Linked DNA regions of Homo sapiens: region 1 is linked to region 2. The links are contacts of gene promoters, found by promoter capture Hi-C in human tissues and cell types (Jung and others, 2019). All regions are on one chromosome and are shown on one strand. Each heading gives the region's core, a stretch centred on a gene start or on the middle of the fragment in contact. The rest is flanking DNA. Distances are from core to core; before and after follow the strand shown.

What was found. Contacts are between HindIII fragments. The study calls those that stand out against the background at their distance.
Region 1: a fragment that was not itself captured here is called in contact with the fragment with the promoter of ATP2B1 in region 2 in 1 of the 25 tissues and cell types used here (dorsolateral prefrontal cortex).

What each region holds. Positions count from the first base shown.
Region 1 is chr12:90,855,095-90,860,553 of GRCh38, reverse strand. No RefSeq gene overlaps it. Among named protein-coding and RNA genes, the nearest start is that of LINC00615, 60 kb to the left of the region's middle. The HindIII fragment of the contact is 3,936 bases long and covers 315-4,250 here.
Region 2 is chr12:89,706,677-89,712,353 of GRCh38, reverse strand. ATP2B1 (ATPase plasma membrane Ca2+ transporting 1) reads left to right here and starts at 3,516. Exons shown (of 21, transcript NM_001366521.1): 1 at 3,516-3,758. ATP2B1-AS1 (ATP2B1 antisense RNA 1) reads right to left here and starts at 3,399. Exons shown (of 1, transcript NR_028138.1): 1 at 402-3,399. LOC107984543 (a long non-coding RNA gene) reads right to left here and starts at 117. Exons shown (of 7, transcript XR_007063399.1): 1 at 75-117. RefSeq lists silencers at 2,278-2,827, 2,848-3,867, 4,018-4,247 and enhancers at 4,438-4,537, 4,548-4,637. The HindIII fragment of the contact is 9,648 bases long and covers 1-5,677 here.

The sequences.
Region 1 (5,459 bases), core at 1,033-3,532, 1.1 Mb before region 2:
GTTCAGATAGAATTTTTATGATTAAACATTTTGTGAATTGGAGACAAATAGCTTGATCTGGTCAGAGAAACATGTTTTTAACCTTAAATTACCTGTCACTCTAAGTAAGATAAAAATAGTTGGACCAATAAAATATTGACTTTCACTCCCTAGACTGGATTTAAAGTAGAAATAAGTCAATGAAAAATAAGCTCCCACTTAGAAGATATTTTCTAGGGAGAGAAGGGTCCAGGAAAAAGACAGATGTACTCTGACAGGCAGGACCTGGAGTTGATGACCATGAGTACACAAAGGAACCCTGAGTCCCAACCAAGGGGTAAGGAGAATACGTAAGATTGGTTGTTCCTTCAGATTATGCTGTGGTATCAAATCTACTGCTCAGGTCTCCTTTTTTTCTGTAAGAACAAATCCAAAATAAACTTTGATCCCCAAGCACCCAAGTCCTAGCACAAGAAGGTCATCGCTATCTGTCCTTTGCCGAGTGCCCATGTTGAGTACAAAAGCCCAGACAGGGAATATCTTCCATTTGAAACCAGGACGGAGACCATGGATAGCTCACGTGTTTTATAGAACAACTATAAAAGTTACCCATTTTTTTTCCTATTTCAGCCAATAAATAAGTTTTCTTGACTTGTACAGAAAAACTTCTGAATGATTTGAGTTTTGCCCAGGGGACATCTACATGGGAATGCAAGTATATAGTTAAATATTTGAACCTTGAACTCACTAAGAGTCTTGGCTAAAGATAAATATTTGGAAGCAGTGAATCAATAGGCAGTAATTGTAACCATGTGGATGTACATATGGATTATTTATGTATGTATGATGGATGGGTTTGCTCAGGCTTTCAAGTTAGTTATTTCCTTTTATGGGTCATTAAAGTGATATGTCTATACACTATGAAAACATGCTACATTCTGTGTCTGTTTACATGTTTATTTCTTCTGTAGAAATAGGAACTCCTGTGGACAGCTTGTGTATATTAATATTTCTGGTGTCAAATGTTTAATAACTAATTGAAGAAAAGTTACAGAGAAAGCTTTAAAATATACTCTTACATTGAGTATGACATTCTCTACCTGAAAGTTCACTCATAGAGCCAGTAATGATGTGTTTTTTCTCCAGAGTTTGGTGGGCTTTCATAAACTCATTTTATAATCTAACTCAGATTCCCTTTCATTACTATGTATTAAAGGAAAGGGCATTAAAATTGCAAGCTGTTGTTTCAGAAGAAAGTTCTTGGTATGCAATTATCAAATATGTCCGTTAGCTGTATGTACTCTCTTTTCCCTAAGCAATCCCATTGAGTAGATGATATAAATGAAATACTGTTTATAACCAAAAGTTTCTAAAATTTTTATTTGTTGAAATTCTGTGTTTTCCAAATGTTAAATACTTTAAGCAGAAAATGTTTAATCATATTATCAAATGAAGAGTAATAAAATAAAAGGTATGATTTTGTAGCCAAGAATATTTAAAAAGAGGACTCTGAAACAATTATTGCAATAAAAAATTTTTAAAAAGCACAACTTTCAATATTTTTCTCTCCCACATTTTTGTTTGCTCATGTGCAAATAAAACAAATGAAGCAAAATTTCTGTCTGTAGATGACATGGTTTGTGTTTGTCTTTTTCTAATGTAGTATTTCTTGTACTTGTGCAAAATGTAATTATTATTACCAAAGGATTAAATATAAATTATAGTTAGAAAAACGGGTAACAAATAGACATAAAAAGTAACATCTTCACAGGAACTCAACAAATAAAAATACATTAACCTCTTAAAAGCAACATTCACTTACAAAATTCTATCATGTAACTTAGCTAGTTTCTGCAGAACTCTTTAGCAGCCATCAATTTGATACAGAAGAAAAGGATAAACACCAATTAGGTAAACAGTTAAGGCTGGTCCTCAGAGAAGCACCCTGCCTGAAAAATCACAGCTACAGGCAAAAATAGAGCAGGCTGGGGAAAACTTGGGCTGCACCTGCACAGATAAGCAGGCAAAGCAGGCATGGTCCAACACAGAAGCCTTTTGTTCTTTGTGTAATTGGCAGGCACCCAGGAAAAGTTTCCTCCCCTTCTCAGACATGTATACGATGGGAACTTGCACAGGGAGGAGAGGGGCTTACCTAAAACAAACCCACATTTATACAAACAAAAGAAGTGCACATTGTGCCTGCCTAGAGACATACCCAGAACTACATACGCAAGGGGGAATTATGCAGACAGCTTTATGGATAAGAGAAGTTACTCAAACAGCTATAGAGATGAGAGGAGTTTCTCATAAAAGCTTTTGGATTCAACTGTAAAAACAGCAACCCACTTGGGTTCCCCTCTCCACTGAGGAGAGCTTTTTTCTTTCACTTATTAAACTTTCACTCCAACCTCACTCTCTTTGTGTCCTCAATTGTCTCAGTCATGAGACAACAAGATCAGATACTACCTTAGATGAGACCAGTGACGTTCCACTGTTTCAAATTAACATAGTAATCTGAAATACTCATTTGAATACAATTTTAGTTTTTTTAATCACTATGAAGTTAATCTCTGCATAATTATTTCAGTGTAAAGCAGTGTCACATACATCCACATCATGTATCTTTTGACCTTTAGGTTGTGGACTCAAACCTTGAAATTTATTTGTTTACCCCAAACCTGATAGTTCTCCTAAAGTCAAAGCTTTGCTTTCAATACATATGCAGCACTTTCAAGGTAAACCATGTCACCTTGGAAATTGTTATAAGATTTTTTAACTGCATTCAACTTTGCGCAGTTTAGATCAGAGTGTTCCAGCTTAATTTCTGAATCTCATATGATTATTAAGATAATAGAGAAGCAGGGAGTGGGGATTGTGAATCCAGGTTGCAGAATTTCAAGTTTTTGTTTAGTTGCTTCCCTATGACTAATGAAATCAGCATAAAGTAGTGTTCATTTTGGGGTAACTCTGACCTATGAAGTGGAGGAATTTAGAAATATTTAAAAATCACTTCTAATTTTGTATCAAATAGCAGGTTGATAGAGCTAAAAGATGTAGTAGCAGTGAGATAACTGAGTCGTTTGTATCATTTAGGCAGAACCATTCTATAACCGAAGGCTTTCTTTATTCTAAAAGCTGATAATTATAATTTATTCTTGAAGCATACACTTAACACTTTTGTTTGAGTACATAAAACAGCAGACAGTGTTTGAGTGTTATATCAATCATTTTTACCTACATTTTTCCTCTCTCATGATAAAGAGACTTTTAGAAATAAAATTCAGATGAACCAAGTAACAATCACAGAGTCAGTGAACAAAAACCCCAATTAAAATGGAGAACTTAGAAATTACTCAATGAATTCAATTCCTTAAAGTATATCATTTTTTTCACAAAACAAGTAACAAGCCTGCCCTCCTTTTCCCTAACCTATAATTTCCCTACTCCCATCTTTGCCCCAAATAATCTTATTGCCTGATTCATTTTTCTTATATAATAATAATGATAATAATAATAATGTGTCACCATTTACCTAGCTCTTAAAATGTAAAACTTTCTGTGCAAAAGAACTTGGCATATTCTGTCTCTTCTAATTCTTTGAATAAATGCAGAGTTAGGTAGTATTTTACATTAGGAAAATAGATTCAGAGACTAGACATATCTAAATTAAAGGCACACAGGTACTAAATAACAGAGCCAGGATTCTATTTAGGTTAGTCTGTTTACTCCATCTTTGATGGTGTTAACCACCAATCTATAAGGCATCCTTGAAGGATCAGGACTCAGGAGGCCTAAAAAGTTAGATAGAAATCTCTAACTTAAAACTTTACAACCTAAAATAATGCATGATTTTCCCTTTCAGCATTTATGTACATTAATATGGATGTGTTTTATTGTAGCCCCAACTGTATGCATGGCATTGATGATCTTACCAAGTATTTTTAACTGCTAAAATAATTTTCCATTGTATAATAAAATTACATTAGACTAAAATCTTTTGAATTTTTAGGTTGGCACAAAAGTAATTGAGGTTTATGCCATTGAAAGTCAATGTATGCCAACCTAATATTATTTAGTTTTGGAATAGAATGCATTTTCTCTCTTTCAGTCTTCTTTCTTCATTCTTAATAACATTTCTAGAATATATCCTAAAGTTTATACTGAGAAAAAACTCAGGTATTTAATACATGGTCAAGATGCAAATACATAGAAATGTGTGTGTGTGTGTTTGTATGCAAATGTATATATACATATATGTATATTGCATGCATGTAATAGCATATACAATTATGAATATATATACTGCAAATATATGTATATCTTTTTTATTTAAGGAAATATTCTGAAGTCAAAAGAGCATTAAATATTATAAAACTAAGTGAAGATTAGAGAACTAATATTCTTTAACACAATTCTAGGCATTAAAACGGGTAGTGGCAAATGAATTCTGAAAAGCAGAATCTTAAATGAAACTGAAAAAGATGCTATGTTACTGCCATGAATTTAACATGAACGTAACTTGTCTCTACCTGCAGGTGTTAAGTGTGACATTTCTTTGTTTTTACAGTGAAGTAGAATAAGTATCACAACTCTTAAATGTATACAATAAAGGAAATTTTGGTTGCAAAAGAAGCATGTAGTTGTGTATTTGACTTTTACAATATCATGGTACTTTAACCCTGATTATCAACCTGAATATTCTCCTTCAAAAAAGAAAAGAGAAAAAGAAAAATAAAGATCTTAGTAACTCAGAGTAAATTATTGAAAAGTGATCTGTTTTATCTCTGCCTGCCTTGAAGAAATATTGTGCTTTAAAAGGTTTTCATGTAAACAGGACACATTGACTCTTTTCTTTCTCCCTCCTTCCTTCTTTTTTGTTGTCTGTCTCCTTTTTCTCCCTTTCCTTTCCCTCTCCTTCCTTCCTTCCTTCCTTCCTTCCTTCCTTCCTTCCTTCCTTCCTTCCTTCCTTCCTTCCAACTAACTTGTTCATTTTGAGTCAACGCTGTCCCCACTAACTGCCATGGTTTTTGCAACAGAATATTGTGGAGTGAATAAGCACACATACTGTCTAATTTCCCATTCCTCGTACACAGCACTAATCCCAGAGCTCTGCAACCATACTTTAGTCAGAAGTTGTATTGATAAAATATTATTTTCAATTATTACATAAACATAGAATTCTTGTACTGTAGAAAAGTTTTGATTTTGTTTTGTTTTGTTTTTTAGATGGGTGGGGCTGTAGGTGCAGTGGCTCATGGCTGTGGTCCCGGCACTTTGGGAGGCCAAGGCAGGAGGATCATTTGAGCCCAGGAGTCCAAGACCAGCCTGGGCAACATAGGGAGATCCCATCTCTACAAGTTTTTTTTTTTTTTTTTTTTTTTTAATTAGCCAGGTATGGTGACATGTGCCTGTAGTCCAGGCTACTTGGGAGGCTGAGGTGGGAGTATCCCTTGGACCAGGGAGTTTGAAGTTGCAGTGAG
Region 2 (5,677 bases), core at 2,267-4,766:
TGGTAACTTGTCATGGGGTTTAAATACTTTTTTGTTTTGTTTTGTTTCGTTTTGTTTTTGAGACTGAGACTCACTCTGTCGCCAGGCTGGAGTGCAGTGGTGCGATCTCGGCTCCCTGCAACCTTGGACTCCCTGGTTCAAGCGATTCTCCTGCCTCAGCCTCCTGAGTAGCTGGGATTACAGGCATGAGCCACCACGCCCAGCTAATTTTTGTATTTTTAGTAGAGACGGGGTTTCACCATGTTGGCCAGGATGGTCTCAATCTCCGGACCTCGTGATCTGCCCGCCTCAGTCTCCCGAAGTGCTGGGATTACAGACGTGAGCCACCGCACCTGACTGGATTTAAATACTTTTATAAGTTTTGCATTGTAGCTAAAATGCATATTAAAAGAACTTTAAAATATTATTTCCCCAGTAAATTGTATTATTATATTGTTCCTTATGCAAAGATACATCTCTAGATCAGTTAAACACATGGGATAAGTTAGGTCTAAGATTAAGAGAATACTGTTACATACAGTGGCATCTTTGATTTCAGATAGTTCAATTTTTTTTCAAGGAAACAGTAAGCAATGCAATATTTTCTTGATTTTTACATTGAAAAATATGTGTGAGGGATGCTTTAGTACTAAGCCTGTGGGAGAAAAAAATTGAATTTCTTAATGTAATGTGAACAGTTATTTCTATATTGCTTTCACCCTTTATTTCCTATTTGAAGAATAAAAATATAAAAACCAAACTACAGTACAATTTTCTTGACTATGACAGTAAAAGTTTGTCATTGCATATGACTCACATTTCATTAAAATGCATACAAATATGTTCCGGGATACACACACACACACGTTTTCATTTATGGATATACATGAATATATATATTCCGTATGTTTCATTTATAGATTTATCGATATAAATGAAAACTTAATTGAATCGTGTTCTTAAATAAAGATGCTCAATAATTGTTTCATGACCACAACACTTTAAGAGCATTCATTTTATAATCTGGAACTGGAACAAACCCACAAAGTGAACAGATTCTAGTTTATTACCCATTTTGCTAGTGTACTATAGCAATGATTCACATATTACTTTAATGTCAAATTCTTGATTAAAGTAGAATACATAATTCAACATTGTATTGTAACTTCCTTGGAGGAAAAGTTGGAAAAAAGCCAGTGATTCTTAAATGTCTCTGAGTCGTTTTGAAAGATATTTTAGGGGGAAATAATATTGAAATTTATTAGGTGAAATTTAGGTTATTCTTCTGTTAAAAAGATTTGAAATAGTGTCAGGAAGGGCTATTTATTGTACCACATTAACCAATTCTCCATCAGTGACTGAAGAGAGGAAAAATGCTATCATTCTGTTCAATGTTCGTTTATCTTACACATCAAGGGCACAGCTCAGAAGGCTGGTAATGTCAAGCCTAGTGAGATACATAAACTGATAAAAAAATTATTTGCAACAGCATTGATTTATATTTATTCACTTTTAAACGTCTTTTACACATTTTGTGTCTAATCTTTTAAAATATTTTAAAACAAATGCTATCATCAGATCGTGAACATAATACCATACTTCCTATTGCCTGTATGCTTTTGAGGAGGCTATATAAATATTAATTTTCCAGTTCTGGAATTAAGAGAAAGAAGATTGCAGAACTTATCTTTTTGTTCTGATTAACTGATACTGAAAATAACACTGACAAGGTCTCTGGGCCAGTGGCGACGGTGAGTTCAAATAAAGATTAGATGAAGATGAAGCGCGGTATCTTAGGTAAGATACACATCTTTACTGTGTATATGCGTGTACAAGAAGGAAAACTTGCTTTTTTTTTTTTAAGTAGATGTTACGAAGGATGGTTTTTTTTTTTTTTTCAACTTGCAAAATCTCTTGAAGGTTGGAGCAGAGCCGCCGGTTACCTTTGAGCATCGAAATACCGCAAGTTATCCCGTTTCCTTTTCCCCTCAGGAAAGATGGGTGCAGGGTTGAGATGTTACAAGAGAATTAAAAGAGAGCCACCAGCTTGGCATAGTAGAAGAAACAAACCCAAAATGAAAACACCCGGATTTTAAGCGCGGATCCTGCGAGGCCGGTTTGCACTGGCCGAACGCCTGCGTTAACCCTTTGGGCGCCGCAGCTGGGATCCCCGGTGTTTGCGGACCCGACCGGCAGGAACAGAGATGGAGTGTCCCGCGCCCGCATGGGGAGTGAGCTCTCTTCCCCAAAGAGGGAGCGAGCCGAGAAGCACTTTTTCCTCCGGTGCGTGCGTCACGGCCCGGGACAGGCGTCGAGTCCGGTTTGGAGTGGGGGCAGAGACGCGGCGAGGAGCCGCTCAAATGTCCGCTGACTGGGGGTTCGCCTTAATCTGTCCTCGCCAGGAGCGCTCGCCCTCGCCCTCCCGCTGGCTCGCTCCTGGGCCCTGGAGGGGCATGGGCCCGGGGGCGGTTCGGGAGGGGCCCCAGGTGAAGGGCGCCCGCACTTCTCCTGCGGCAATCATCGCTCTCCTGCCTCCACACGTCGCGGCAGCGGCCCGGCCCCGCGCCGAAACAGCAGCTGTGACTGACGGAGTCACCTCCCCGCGCGCCTGGCCACCCCCTCCTCCCCCGCCGCTCCCTCCTGCACCAACACGTCATGGAAACACGGACGTCAGAGCCTCTCAGCCAATCGCAGGCTGCGGCAGGAGGGAAGGGGCGCGCTGGAGGGGGCGGGGGCAGCGGCAAGCCAAGGCGCTCAGGGGAAGGAAGAAAGGGAGGGGCGTGCGGAGGCGCAAGTCCCCACCTCCGCCCCTCACTCCGGCCACCCTTTCCCGACCGCGCGGCAAGTTCTAATCGCCAGGCGCGCGCTCGCCAGCCGAGGGCGCGCTCGCCGGGTCCTCCCCTTAAACGCCCTCCCAGTGCCGCTCAGCTCCCAGTCCCGGTCCGAGCCGCGGTTCCTCCGCGCGCGCGCGCGCGCACTCGCCCGCCCCCAGGCTCCCCGCGGATCGCGTCACGTGACCGCGCTCAGCCAAGGCGGCAGCGGCGGCGGCGCGAGCTTCGGCGGCGGTGGCGGCTGTGGCAGCGGGAGCAGCTGCGCCGCCAGCGTGGAGCGGGAGGCGTGTGGGTGTGGAGAAAAGGGAGCGCCAGACCGGAACGGGTGAGCGTTCTCCTCCCCCTGCCTACCCCGGCAATCTTGCAGGCCACCCGGTGCAGACGGGGTCCCTGCCCGGAGCTGCGCGCAGCCCCCTCGTGCTCGGCCGTCCGCTCTCCGGTGCCCGCGGGCCCCGCCCCGAGTGGGGCGGGCTGCGGCGCTCACGGAGGTGGCTGCACCCCGCCCGCGGCTGCTGTTGCGGACGGCGGCGTGAGGCCGGCTGAGCTGCCCGTGCCGAGCGAGCGCGGCGCGCCCTGTGTGCCGCTCTGCGGAGCCGAGGAGGCGGGTCCTGCGGGGACGCGGGCGGCCACTCGGTGGCTGCCGGGCTCTGGGCGGGGACGGCCGGGCGCCGCCTCCTCCTCCTTCGCTGCCGCCGCCGCCTCCTCGCAGTGCAGCGTGAGTAGGGAGCCCCGGCTGGTGGACGCCGAGCCTCTCGGCTCCTTGGCCGCCCCATCCCCGAGGTGCAGCTGCACCTCCGCGTGGCGCCCCGAGCCCTGCGAGCCGGCTGCGGACGCGCTGAGGACGGAGCCCCCATCCTCTGCGTTTCCCGCTGCCCCTTAACGCCCCGCGACCCTCCCGCAGCCTGCCTTTCCTTCCCCCTCGGAAAATGGTTCCCACTGCCGGGCGAGGTGAGTGGCGGCCGCCGCCCGCCCGCGGCCGGGGGCGGCGGGGCAGGTCACCTGCGGGGGAGGCCAGGCGGAGCACGGAGGTCGGGCGTCGCGGCGGGGATCCTGATAGCTGGGTGCGCAGCGGGTTGCGCCGGATTCGGGAGAAGCTGACGGGGGCGGTCGGGGCCCCTCGCAGGTTGCCTCTTGCCGGGAGATTGTGAAGGTGAGCGGGCTTCTCGCCGTGCACCTCAGCGCCGGGTCAGTCTGGGAGTCGCTGCTCCGGGCCCGAGGGATGGGGCTTGTTGGGGCTTCTGGTCTACACCCGCAGGTCTTCGGCTTCACGAAGCCGCCTCGGCCGCGCCACAGCCCATCCCGCCACCGGTCGCCCCCGCCACGGCGCGTGGTGACCTTGAGGGCACCGTGCCCGGCACTCCCTCTCCCCGCGCCCCGGGAGGGTCACCCCTCTAATCCTTGGCCTCGGCCCCCCAGACGCACTGCGGGAGGGGAGCGGGGGCCCCTGGTCGGCCCCTGGCCCTGGTGGTTGATTGTTGGCGTGTCAGGACGGTGATTCCTCGGGAGTTGGAGAGCCGCCTGGTCTTTCTCCTCACGCCTTCCGTCTGGCCCCCCAGGATGTTCACAGTTGTTTCCGATTCGTGTTTATTCACTTAGTTTAAGAGAAAAAAGCCTGCGCCCCCACCTCCCTTTTTGAGGAAGGAGTCTGTAGGAGGACCGCGTTCCAGTGGCAGGGGTGTGGGGTGGGGGCTGTGCTCTCTTTATCCCATCCTGCGGGAGAATCCTGTGGCTAAGCTGGTTAGCGACCCCTGGTTCTGCGCCGCGGTCACCAGCCAGGTTGGTCTCTGTGCGCATTTCATTCACCAGTTTTCTGCGGGACTCGCAGCGCTGGGAGTGCTCGCACCCTGTGCGCTGCTTGGCTCGGAGGGGAGGGCAGGGCGTCCGGGTGGGTTAAAGGGGTCTGCAGGTACTTGGAGGGCTCGACCCTCCTCGACAGGCTGATATTTACCTTTTCTTTGGGTTAGAGCGCTGCAGACAGCCACCTTTCGCTTCTGTGCCCGCTACTTTTCTTGGTTTATTAATAATCTAATGGCTTCTGTTGGTATCGATTGCTGTTCGTGATAAATTAGCTACATAGATTTTTTTCATACGTGTGTAGGTATATGCATATATCTGAACTTGTCTGCCTGTCAACATGGAAGCCTTTGTTGTGTTTAACCTCCCCCACCTGAGGACAGTCTTATTTTAAAATAAGGCTTTTGTTCAGCGTGGGTGTATTTTATAATAAGAAGTACTTGTAAGGGCCTGGTTTGTATGAGGCTCTCATCTGGCAGAGGGTGTGTAACCCTTTGGATGGTGGCCCACGTGAGTGAATGGAGGGCCTTCACCACTTGCCCCGATGCCAGCCTTCCCGAGACTCCCTGTCCTTGTGTGTGGCAGGGGTGGATTGGGGGAATTAAGAGGGATTGGAGGAGAATCTGCTTTTTGTACTTGTGCGTTTCATTTGGGTCCTCCTCCTCCCCTCTCTTTTTCTTTATCCTCCTGGTGAGTTCAAATTTGAAGTAAATAGAAACATTTTTTTTTTAATTGGGAACCTTTGATAGCTAGTATATGAAATGGGCTTATTTAGCTATGATTTCAGGAGGACGTTTTAGTTTTTACCTTGCTTTAGATAAGACAGCTAAATTGCTGTAATTAAGGGTGGATCTCTGTCCTGATTTTGGCTTGGGTGTAACTGCAAAGATCTTTGAAAAGTAACTGTTAATTTCCTACCATATAGTCTGCAAAAGTGAGTCACATTCGGGTGAGTTGAGGACAGAGCGCCACCTTTAATTTAAAATTTCGTGATTTTCTTTTATTAAAATGGTGAAAATTCGGGGTACGCCTTCTTGATTTTTATCGCAGCTGTCATTATTGGCATCCCCATT